Linked DNA regions of Homo sapiens: regions 2 and 3 are each linked to region 1. The links are contacts of gene promoters, found by promoter capture Hi-C in blood cells and fetal thymus (Javierre and others, 2016). All regions are on one chromosome and are shown on one strand. Each heading gives the region's core, a stretch centred on a gene start or on the middle of the fragment in contact. The rest is flanking DNA. Distances are from core to core; before and after follow the strand shown. Region 1 holds the start of FITM2 (fat storage inducing transmembrane protein 2). Region 2 holds the start of JPH2 (junctophilin 2). Region 3 overlaps OSER1-DT (OSER1 divergent transcript).

The links. Contacts are between HindIII fragments. The CHiCAGO score rates a contact against its expected background, and 5 or more counts as called.
Region 2: the fragment with the promoter of JPH2 here is called in contact with the fragment with the promoter of FITM2 in region 1 in 1 of 17 cell types (M2 macrophages); the score reaches 5.7 in M2 macrophages.
Region 3: a contact is called between a fragment that was not itself captured here and the fragment with the promoter of FITM2 in region 1, in 6 of 17 cell types (naive CD4 T cells, total CD8 T cells, megakaryocytes and 3 more). The highest score is 7.0, in naive CD4 T cells.

The regions. Positions count from the first base shown.
Region 1 is chr20:44,309,577-44,313,416 of GRCh38, forward strand. FITM2 (fat storage inducing transmembrane protein 2) reads right to left here and starts at 1,626. Exons shown (of 2, transcript NM_001080472.4): 1 at 1,400-1,626. The coding sequence starts at 1,572. RefSeq lists enhancers at 473-1,202, 1,149-1,238, 1,203-1,932, 1,529-1,678. The HindIII fragment of the contact is 15,971 bases long and covers 1-3,840 here.
Region 2 is chr20:44,185,420-44,189,259 of GRCh38, forward strand. It overlaps JPH2 (junctophilin 2), which reads right to left and starts at 1,769. Exons shown (of 6, transcript NM_020433.5): 1 at 908-1,769. The coding sequence starts at 1,286. The HindIII fragment of the contact is 12,085 bases long and covers 1-3,840 here.
Region 3 is chr20:44,212,951-44,216,790 of GRCh38, forward strand. It overlaps OSER1-DT (OSER1 divergent transcript), which reads left to right. Exons shown (of 3, transcript NR_038339.2): 2 at 1,938-2,053. Among named protein-coding and RNA genes, the nearest start is that of OSER1-DT, 3.9 kb to the left of the region's middle. RefSeq lists a silencer at 2,271-2,360. The HindIII fragment of the contact is 6,345 bases long and covers 1-3,840 here.

The DNA.
Region 1 (3,840 bases), core at 376-2,875:
CACTCTTACTTAACTTACTATACCTCCTACCTTTCCAGGCCTCAGTTTCTTCAGCTATCAAACAGAGCTGAGAGGACCAAATGATTTTTAAGGTCCCTTCTATATCCCAGGATTCACTAGTTCCCTCTCATTAATCAGCACAGAGGCTTGGAACAAAACTCCAGGATCCATGACTACCTTCAAACAACAGGGGTGTGTTGTCAGCCAGGCCACTTGGCTCCCAGCTCACCTAGGCCAGAGGAAGCAGCAGCTGCCTTGTCCGCCTCCCCAGCGTTCACGAAAGGTGGCTGACCTAAACCCAGGACAGAGACTTGGGGCCACTACCACTCTCATGATCTATTCTTAGCCCAGCCTCTCAGGGTGGGTGAGGAAGGAAGGTGGACCAAGGACAGAAGGACTTTTTTCTAGGTTCCAATGGATTCTCAGGCACCACCCCCAGGCCTGTCACTAAAATCTTCACTGGGACTGATAAGGAAGATCTTGCCAGAGCCAAGACCCGTCAGGCATTTGAGGAAGCTGCCTGTGAAAGGAACCAGGGTTTTAAGCAGATAACCAAAGTTGGGCTGACTTTCAGGACACGCCAGAGACACTTATTCTGGAAAACACTTAGGCTCACATCAAGGGAGCAGTTTTATCTTTCAGAGTTTCCCTTTATGACCGCAACAGAGTTTTTGTGCAATAAACTTACTAACCGGGAGTTTTGAAAAAAGCAAGTAAGCAAGCAAAGGAGTGGATGGGTGGAGTTAAGGAGATGTCTCAAAGCGCCCAGCTGGGATTGCTTTTCTGGGCCACTGCCATGCATTCTGAGTGGCTGAGATGATCCAAGGAGATCCAGGGGAAAGGGCACAGACTAGGGGGTTCCAGCCCTCTGTGAGTATCTCACAGGCGGGGGCTCTGCCTGTCACAGGCTGGGGCGAGGCTCTTCCACAGGTCGTAAAGGGATTCTGTCACGCGCTGGAGGGATCTGATCTGACGCAGGGTGGGGTCTGCGCGGGGTCTGCCACAGGCAGGCAGGACAGAGGTGAGATGGCATCTCCCAAACAGGGCAGGGGTCAGCTCCTAACTCCAAGGGGAGGCGGGGGAGTGGTGACAGGGGCTGGTTCATCCCCACCCCATTCCACACCCCTACATATACAGAGACACACACGACCCCGCTTGTCACCACCTGCCCAGTCAAGCTCATGCTGCCCAAAGTGGGTCTGCAAACACTAACTGCTAGTGACACCAGCTACCCCGGGGCCTCCCAGGCGTGACACGCGTGCAGATGCTGCTGTCACGGCTAGGAGGAGGACCTCCCCTCCAATGACTCGTCCACCACGGCAGCTAGCACCGGCTTCTCTGGGCGAGGCGACAGCGGGCCGGCTCGGGCGGGGACAGCGGAGGACCGGGGTGCACTCACACGTTGAGGACGTTGCGCTTGTTGCTGAGGTAGCTCTCGGGCAACGGGGACAACTCCTTGAGGAGGGAGCCCGCCAGCATGGAGGCCACCAGGGCCCAGGGCAGGTAGCGCCGCACGGCCGCCCGCACCAGCGTCCCCCGCAACAACCACTCGCAGCGCTCCAGATGCTCCATGCCGGATCTCGTCAGCCACCGTCCTCCTCTCCGTGCCCTCTCGGCCACCGTATCGCCCTTCGCCCGGACCTGCGCCTCCACCTCCCTTCGAGCGCATGCGCACTGCCCGCGAGTCCCACAGCTTGAGGCGTGCTTGGGCTCCGGAGCCCGCGCGCTCCCCCTCGTGGCCGCTGCTGCCTCTGGCGCGTGACGGTCCCCGAACTCGCTCGTCTCCTCTGCGCTCTCCTGGCCGCCTCCTCTCCCCGAGCCTCCGCGTCTTGCTCTGGTCTGGGAAAAAGCGCTTGTGAAAGTATTTGCTGGAGGCTGGAAGAGGATAAATGTAGCCCTGGAGAATTGGAGCAGTAGTCACAGCATCATTTGATCTTTCTTGGAGCCTCGGAGACACCTCTGCCATCTGAGTCTTAGTTTTCTCATCTGTAAAATGCGAGAGACAAGAGGAGATCAACCTTTCCCAAAAGCTAGTTTATGAGCTCAGGGGTTCATTACGTTGGCACACGTAGAGGGACATGAGATGAAGTTTCCTTAGGAATAATTATTGTATTTATTTATTTATTAGTTAGTTGGGGGGGGGTCCCTCTCTGTCGCCCAGGCTGGAGTGCAATGGCACCGTCGCAGCTCACCGCAACCTCAAATTTCTGGTCTCAAGCAATACTCCCACCTCAGCCTCCCGAGTAGCTGGGACCACAGGCGGGCACCACCACACCTGGCTAATTTTTTTTATTTTTATTTCTGTAGAGACAGGGTTTTGCTTCGTTGTCGAGGCTGGTCTCAAACTCCTGGGCTCAAGCGATCCTCCTGCCTCGGCTTCCTAAAATGCTGCAATTACAAGTGTGAGCCACCACGCTCTGCAGTTATTAAATTAATTAATTAATATAATTAATTTATTTAGAGACATAGTCTCGCTCTGTTGCCCAGGCTGGAATGCAGTGGCGCGATCTCAGCTCACTGCAGGCCTCTGCCTCCCAGGTTCAAGCGATTCTCCTGCCTCAGCCTCCCGAGTAGCTGGGATTACAGGCACGCACCACCACACCCAGCTAATTTTTGTATTTTTAGTAGAGATGGGGTTTCACCATGTCGGCCAGGCTGACCAACTCCTGTCCTCAAGTGATCTGACCTCTCCAAATCTTAACCTCAAGTGATCTGCCAGCCTTCACCTCCCAAAGTGCTGAGATTACAGGAGTGAGCCATCTCACCTGGTGCAATTATTACATTTAAAGTTTAAATTTCTAAATTTATTTTCACCTGGGCAACACAGTGAGACTCAGTATCTATAAGAAATAATTTTAAAAACTAGCTGACTTGGTGGCTCAGGCCTGTGGTCCCAGCTACTCAGGAGGCTGAGGTGGGAGGATTGCTTGAGCCCAGGAATTTGAGGTTGCAGTGAGCTGTGATGGTCCCATTGCACTCCAGCCTGGGCCACGGAGCGAGACCGTCTTAAAAAGCACACAAAGAAACACAAAACAGCTATCTATGCCTGTTGGATGAAAATGCTGGATGCTGGGGGTTAATGGGGAGATCACATGAAGTTGTTGGAGACTCAGTTGCTCAGTTTATCACAAAACTAACCCCTCACCCCTGGTTAGGGCTGGGTGTCTATTTCAGTTCCCAACCTTGGACTCATTCCCTTACCCCAATGTTAGTTTCCTGTGGCAGCTCTAATAAATTACTATAAACTCAGTTTATTTTTATTCCTTTTTTTTTCTTTAGTTTTAAATAGAGATGGGGTCTCACTATGTTGCCCAGGTTGATCTCGAACGCCTGGGCTCCAGTGATCCTCCTGCCTCGGCCTCCCAAAGTGCTAGGATTACAGGTGCGAGCCACCGTGCCCAACCCTAAACTTGTTTTAAACAACAGAAGTTTATTCCAAAAGCCACAAACCCAGCCAATACACACATATATAGTCATATCAAGAGATGGGCATTTTAGGCCAGACGTGGTGGCTCACGCCTGTAATCCCAGCACTTTGGGAGGCCAAGCTATTTTGATCTTGGCTCACTGTAACCTCTGCCTCCCGGGTTCAAGGTAGTCTCCTGCCTCACCCTCCCAAGCAGCTGGGACTACAGGCACATGCCACCACACCTGGCTAATTTTTTTGTATTTTTAGACAGGGTTTCGCCATGTTGACCAGGCTGGTCTCCAACTCCTAGCCTCAAGTGATCTTCCTGCCTCTGCCTCTCAAAGTGCTGGGATTACAGGCGTGAGCCACCACACCCGGCCCAAAGAAAAATTTCTATCGAAATATTCATCATCACTAGCTGCCCAAAATAA
Region 2 (3,840 bases), core at 519-3,018, 120 kb before region 1:
TTGAGACCAGTCTGGGCAATATGGAAAAGCCCTGTCTCTACAAAAAAAAAAATAATAATACAAAAATTAGCCAGGCATGGTGGTGCACACCTGTAGTCCCAATTACTAGGGAAGCTGAGGTTGGTGGACCACTTGATCCTGGGAGATCAAGGCTGCAAAGAGCCGAGATCATGCCACAACACTCCAGCCTGGGCAACAGAACGAGAACTTGTCTTGGAAAAAAAAAAAAAGAATCCATGGATGGATCATAGATGGATGGATGGATGGATGGATGGATGGATGGATGGAAAGATGGATGGGTGGATGGGCAGGTAGATGTATGAATGGCTGGATGGGTAGATGAATGGTTGGGTGGAAGCATGAATGCGTGGGTGGGTAGATGGATGGATGGGCAGGCAGGTGGGTGGATGGATGAATGGATGGATGGACGGGTGGGTGGATTGGTGTGTGGATAGATGATGAGTGGATAGTTGGATGGGTGGATGGATGGATGGGTGGGTGGATGAATACTCCTCATGATCTATTGCTTGAAAATAATTTTCATGGCAAAGTTAAGACTAGACCCTAATTCTGCTAGAGTATATTCCATGGCTGTTTATGTTGGGGCATACCGAACATGCTAATGGTAGTAGTTATATTTTATTGTGTGTTGAGTGTGCACTTACATGGCAGGCTTTGTACTAAGCACTGCCACTAATCCTCTCAATAACCCCTTTATTAGCTCCATCTTTACTACAAGAAAATGGAAGCTCAGAAAGGTAGAGCAGCTTGCCCAAAACCACACAGCAAATCACTTCCTAGCCCATCTGATTCTGTGCCAATTGCCGGTCGCCTTTCCCACCCTCCACCAGGGTTTCTCACCCTCCCTGGCTCCACCCCACCTCTGCGGGCCCCCAGCTGGCCTCACCTCCATCAGCATAGGTCTCGGTGCCATAGCCGTCTTGCAGGCCATTGTTCCAGGTGCCCTCATACTTGGCACCGCTGCTTGAGCTCTGCCGGATTCCGTAGCGTCCCTTGAAGCCATGTGTCCACTCGCCCTTGTAGAGCCAGCGCCCCTTGGTCTCTATGCCCAGCCCATGCCGTTTGCCCTGGCTCCAGTATCCCTCAAAGGTGTTTCCGCTGGGCCAGGTGTAGACACCTGCCACCTCAAAGCCAAAGTTCCAGGAGCCAGAGTATTCGCCCTGGCCCTTGGGGCCTGTGCACAGTCCATGCCCATGGGCCTTTCCCCCCTCCCAGCCCCCGCAGTACGCCCCTCCATCATCAAAGTCGAAGCGGCCCCCACTCATCTCATCATAGCCCCTGACAACCTCCCCGTCCTCCAGCGTGGGTGCAGAGGGCGTGGGTGATGCCTGCAACACTCCTCCAGTGCCCTCGGGGGCAGGCCCCCAGACTCACCACTGCACCCCAGGAGGGGGGAAGCAGGATGCCAGCAGAGGCTGAAAGAGCCCCGGCGCCAAGTCAGCACCGGGTCGGCTAGTCAGTGCCATGCCCGGGAGCCCCGACTCCACCAGCCAGAGCAAGGCTGCCTGCTGGAAAGAAAGCAGGAAGGAAAGGTTCAAAGTCCCCACAAAGCGTCCCAAGTCTGCCTTCCAAGAAGTCCAAGGGAAAACGGTGTGATCTCTTTAAGAAGCCCAGTGAAAGGGTGGGGTGGAGGGGTCCCCAGCCTTTTCAAAGAGGGGAAATTCCCCTCGGTGGCAGCCCCCGCCGGAGGCTGAATTCCCGCAGCCCGCTGGCCCCCTTCTCCACCCCAGTGGGTGTGCGGGGCTGTCGGTCTCCCCGCCGCTGCCCCGCCCCCTTCTCCAATCCTGCCCTCCTTCTGGGACGGAAAGGTCAGTGTTGCCCTAACAAGGCCATTGGATCTCAGAAGCTGCTCCCAAAATAACCCCCAGCCAGCCCAGCCTTCTTCAAAGCGGGAAGGAGGGGTATTTCAAATCGCGCCCGTGCCGCAGACCCGGGCAGTGGCTGGAGGCATGAGGAAGGAGGCTGAGAACTGAGTGCAGGCAGCCCAGGGAACCTGGTGTCTTTTCCTCCCGGGAATGAGAGCTCCCTTCCATTCTCAGAGTCCCCTGGGTCTGCGCGCAGGGAGGGCACCGGGGAATCGGGGAAGGGAGGGGAGAGGGAGACCAGCAGAACACCCAGTCCTGGAACACTGAAAATCCCCCAGAGCGAGGAGGTTGGCAGATCTCAGCCCCATCACCACTCACATGCCCTAAGGGGACCTGGGGTTACAGCACCACTGCCAGCCCCATCAAGGAATCCAGTGACCTAAAGAGAAAGGAATGGAGACAGTTTCACATGTGCTTCCGAAAGCAGAGGAGGGAAGTCAGAAAGAGAGGGGAGGCTGTGGAAACAGGGTCTGGAAGATACACAGAATCTCAGTCCAGTGCTCACTCACCACCCTGAGCTCCCTCCACCCCTGGAAGCCGGGGAGAACTTGGTGCAAGAAGCAACCATCTATTCCCTTTCTCTTTCTCCTGAAGGGCAAAGAGAAGGGAGAGGAGCCTGCCCTCCTCTCTGCCTGAGACACAGACTGGGCGTCCCGCTAGCTTCCTCTCCCCACCCCTTGATGCCTCGGCGCCCTCCCTGCCCCCTGCCGCAGACCCAGCAGACCCTGAAGGTCAAAGGAGTCCCCTTCCTGTCAACACAGGGTTGTGTTGTAATGAGGTCCTCTCAGAAATTCTCAAGGGTCATGATTTTTTAAAATTTCCCTTTCTGAGCTGTCTTTTGCTCTAGTGTCCTAGGAGCCTGTGAGGCCAGACTTCAGAAAGCTCTTGGGGCAGGGCCAGGAGAGAAGGGCCTGGGTGGATTCCCAGCCACTCAGGTTCCCACCAAACTCCAGTAAAAAGAACAAATAAATCTCCATGGCAAGAAGCTGTGGCCAGAGCTAATGATTGTAAATCCCAGCTAAGCCCAAGGTTAATGGGAGTATAGAGGAATTCTGGGAAAGGTAAGAGCCACCAAGACTAGGAAGATCTGTGTGTGTGTGTGTCTGTGCGTGTGTGTGAACGTGTGTCTGTGAGAGTGTGAGAGAGTGTGTGTGAGTGTATGTGAGTGTGTGTGGTAAGAGTGTGTGTGTTTGTGTGTGTGTGGTAAGTGTGTGTTTGTGTGAGTGTGTGTGGTAAGAGTGTGTGTGTTTGTATGTGTGTGTGGTAAGAGTGTGTGTGTTTCCATGTGTGAGTGTGTGTGTGTGAGTGTGTGTGTGAAGATGGGGACAGAAGAGAAAGAGAGAACTAAGCACAGAAGGTACTAGAGAACATTAGACAATTATCTGACTTTGAACTTATCTGACATATTTCCAAACCCCATGATAACTTAGGCCACGTGAAGTCACTGCGGAAGTCTTGTTCCTGTTTGGGGAGTGGGTAAAAAGTGTTCCCTGCTTTCCTTCCAGTGGGTTACCTGTTCTTAGGACTTGGTTCCATCCTTGGTCACAGCCGCTGACCTTCAAGAGCCCCTTCTATATCTGCGTTTCACCACCAGGTAGAGGCACCCAGCCTCTTGGGCTCACTGTCACCGTCTGTTTGCCAAGCTGACAGGGAGCACGTAGTGGATAAAAACTGTTTCCTCTGGGTGGTTAGGTGTGAGCCCTGGCCAGGCTGACTGACAGCCTGCTTGCACAATTCACTTCTAAGAACATCTCAGGGCTACTCCCAGGGAGTTCTGCTTTCGCCACTTCTCACTAGGTCTTTGGAGAATCACAAACTTCTTTCTAGCTCTGCTGTCAAGGGAAGAGCATCTCAAACTGGAAGCTAGGGGAGTTTGAGCTGCAGATTCAATACCGTAATCATATGTTTATGCCAGGCAGCCATTGCTACATCTTAGCAGGGTGTTCTACCTATG
Region 3 (3,840 bases), core at 789-3,288, 96 kb before region 1:
AGAATGTGACTCATTACTCGGGGAGTACTTGGAAGGTGGGAACCTCTTGTGAATGCTGAAGCCTGTTAACTCACACACCTGACGTGGCCTGAAGTTTTAAGTCATTATACATAGGACTGGCTCACGGTGTGATACATCATGACTTGGAAAGAGATAGAAAAGCTACAAAATGGGATGGATCTGAGTGAACAAAAAGCCAGATCGGTGTCCTATACCAGCAATTCCAAGTCTTTTTAACCATGGGAAAAAAACCTGAATTTGTGTGTGGACTTTATATTGAAGAAATCAACTTTGTATTAATGCACATGGTAATGCCATTTAATTAAAAAGCTGTGGTAGATGTAAAATTCCTCTAACAGTGCTTCTTTCTTGCTACAAGTGTCTTGTACATGCTTTAGTAAGAGAGACTTAATTCCATGAATTTATACTGCAAGAACAATTTATATAGGAAGATAATAGTTTCTCTTAAAAAATAACTTTGGAGAAGCCAAGTCCAAAGTAATAAAGAAAATTATTTGCCTAACCATGTGGCTGCCATCCTACCAGTTGGTAATCTGGAAAATATTCTGTTCTTATGTTTTAAGACTCAAATTAATTTATTTCTTACCTCGATATACTTTTTTAAATGACTTAGGGTAGGCCAGGCGTGGTGGCTCACGCCTGTAATCCCAACACTTTGGGAGGCTGAGGCAGGTGGATCACCTGAAGTCAAGAGTTCGAGACCAGCCTGGCTAACATGGTGAAACCCCATCTCTACTGAAAAATAAATAAATAAATATACAAAAATTAGCTGGGAGTGGTGGGCACACACCTGTAATCCTAGCTACTTGGAGGCTGAGGCATGAGAAGCCCTTGAACCCAGGAGGTGGAGGTTGCAGTGAGCTGAGATCATGCCACGGCACTCCAGCCTGGGCTACAGAGCAAGACCTTGTCTCAAAAAAAAAAATAAAATTAAATTAAAATGACTTTGGGATAGAAGATAGTGATAATGATTATTTGTCTTGATTTACAAGATGTTAGCTCATGTAATCTTCATAACCAATTTGTGAAATGTACTTCTATGATGTCTGTTTTACAGCTGAGGAAACTAGGCTCAGAATAGTTAGATAACTTGTCCAAGGTTACATAGTTTGTAAGTGGTAGAACGGGGATTCCAATCTAGGCAGTCTGACTATAGCACCCTGCTGACCGCTGAGTTACACTGCTTTCCTTAGCCTCCCCACCTTCACCTCCTGTATGTACCCAGCTAGACCAGGGATACCTGCTTTCACCTGGAAAATACCACTGGGTTTGAGGAAATTGGCTGCCCAGGGCCTAGGACTGTTCCAGCCACTCTTTCTTTGCATATATTTGAACCCAGCAGGCATATTTCCCTCTCAGGTCTTTTGTATGTATTTCCCCTCCTGGAGCATTGTTTACTCACAGTTCATCTTGTCATTCAAAGTCTCTGCTCATATCAGCTCCCCAGGGGGGTCTTCCTTGGCTTCCCCAGCACCCCCTTCACTGTGTATCCCTTTACCCTGCTTTATCATAGCACTTGTCACTACCTGACAATGTATAGTTATTTTTTGGTCCCCTCACTAGAATAGAAGCTACCCGAGGACAGGGACTTTGTGTCTTTTTTTTAGTCACTATTTTTTTTAATCAAAGATGCACATTTTCCCACAATTTATTAATAGCGGTTAGAAAATCTGAATGTGTCTTATAATCGCCAGTGTGTCCTGGTTTAATTGGTAGTATTTTTTTCTTTCTTACTTGTTCCTACAGTAAGTGGTGAGTCTTTAAAATGATGGTGTCTTAGAATTGATGAAAATACAGTGTATCCCCAAGGCCTGAACTCTATGTGGCACATAGTTGGCTCTCAATAATTACTTGTTAAAGGAAGGCATTGAGTGTTGTGTGCCAGAAACTATTGAAACCTTTTTTTTTTTTTTGAGATCTCGCTCTGTCACCCAGGCTGGAGTGAAATGGCACAATCTTGGCTCACTGTAACCTCCGCCCCCAGGTTCGACTGATTCTCGTGCCTCAGCCTCCTCAGTAGCTGGGATTACAGGTGAGCACCACCATGCTCTGCTAATTTTTGTATTTTTAGTAGCAATTTATATCATTCCAGCAGACTCTTAGAAAGTAGATGGGGAGGGTGGGGAATGTAAGAGAGACCAGTTAGAAGACACTCGAAATAATCTGAGGGAAGACCAGAATGGGAACCATGGCTGAAGGATGGTGAGACCAGCAGGGCTCGGCAGCCTGCTGAGCAGATGTCTGGCCTGAGCCGTGCCAGTAGGTGGCCCCCTTCACTAAGGAAGGGAATCCAAGAAGACTAGGTTTGGGGAGTGTGAGACGGTTTGGTTTTGAACATAAAAGTTTCAAGTGCAGATGAAAGGAGGAATCAGGTCCCAAAGGCTGCAGCAAGGGACTTATCCTGAGGTTTCTCCTTCTGAGAACTGTAGGAGCTATGGAAAGAAATGACCAAATTTATTTTAGAAAGATGACTGGTTTCAGCGTGAGCCGGCATGGTGATCCAGGCCTGAGATGATGGTGATCGAAGGGGCAGGTGGCCCTAAGTATGGAGAACAAGTGAGCCGATTGGAAAGTTGCGTAGATCAGGCCTTGGGGAGAGATTGACTACGAACAGGATGGGCAGTGAGAGAAAGCTGACAATGATACTTTGCTTTCCAGTTTGAGCAACTGAATGGATATTGGTGCCCATCTCAATTAAACTCTGTTGAACCCAGCTGACAGTGAGCAGAGGAAGAACATTTAAATGGAGAATCATAGTAACAGCTAATACTTTCTTTTATTTCTTTCCTTTTCTTTTCTTTTTTTTGAGACAGAGTCTTGCTCTGTTGCCCAGGCTGGGGTGCAGTGGTGCAATCTTGGCTCACTGCAACCTCTGCTTCCCTAATTCAAGTGATTCTCCTGCCTTAGTCACCCACGTGTGCCACCATGCCTGGCTAATTTTTGTTTGTTTGTTTGTTTGTGGAGACAGCGTTTTGCCATGTTGGCCAGGCTGCTCTCGGACTCCTGGCCTCAAGTGATCTGCCTGCCTCAGCCTCCCAAAGTGCTGGGACTGCAGGCATGAGCTACCATGCCCAGCCTATGAGGGCTAATACTTTCATAGCTCTTCCTATGCATCAGAAGACTCATTTTAATTCTCACCACAATTCTATGAGATTACCATTATCACACTCATCTTCCAGATGAGGAAACTGAAGCAAAGAGAAGTTAAGTAACTCACCAAGGTCACACAGCTAACAAGTGGCAGAGCTAGAATTTGAACCTAGGCAGCTTGGTAGAGTCTGTGCTGTCACTGCCTCTCTGTGCTGATATATCTCTAAATTAGTTCAGTTTGGACAGAGTGAACCTGAGAGATCCGTGGGGCAGCCGCGTGGAGGTGTCTAGCAGGCATGCAGATATATGGTTCTGAAGCTCACATGGGAGGTGGGGACTGGAAATAAAGACTGTGGAGTCTGCATACAGGTGGCCATTGAAGCCACAGGAAAGGTCAGGACCCTTAAGGAGAGGGTGGGAGATAATCAGAGGAAAGAAACAAGGGAGCCCTGGAAGGCAAACACAAGCATTCCAGTTGTGGGAAGGACATAGTCCTTTCTGCAAATGAATACACTGCACCTGGCTTATAGATCTTCAGTCAACAGATAGTCCATCCCGCAGAATTTGTTTGGCTCTGGGTACCCTGACAAAATGGAGTTCCTGGAGCCACAGCCCTAAGGACCTGCCTCAATGGTGGTGATCCTCCCCACTTTCTTCTACCATGAGAGTCCACTGGGGGCCTGTTGGCTTCTCTGGGCATCTGTTTTTTGCCCCTCCCTACAACTGAAG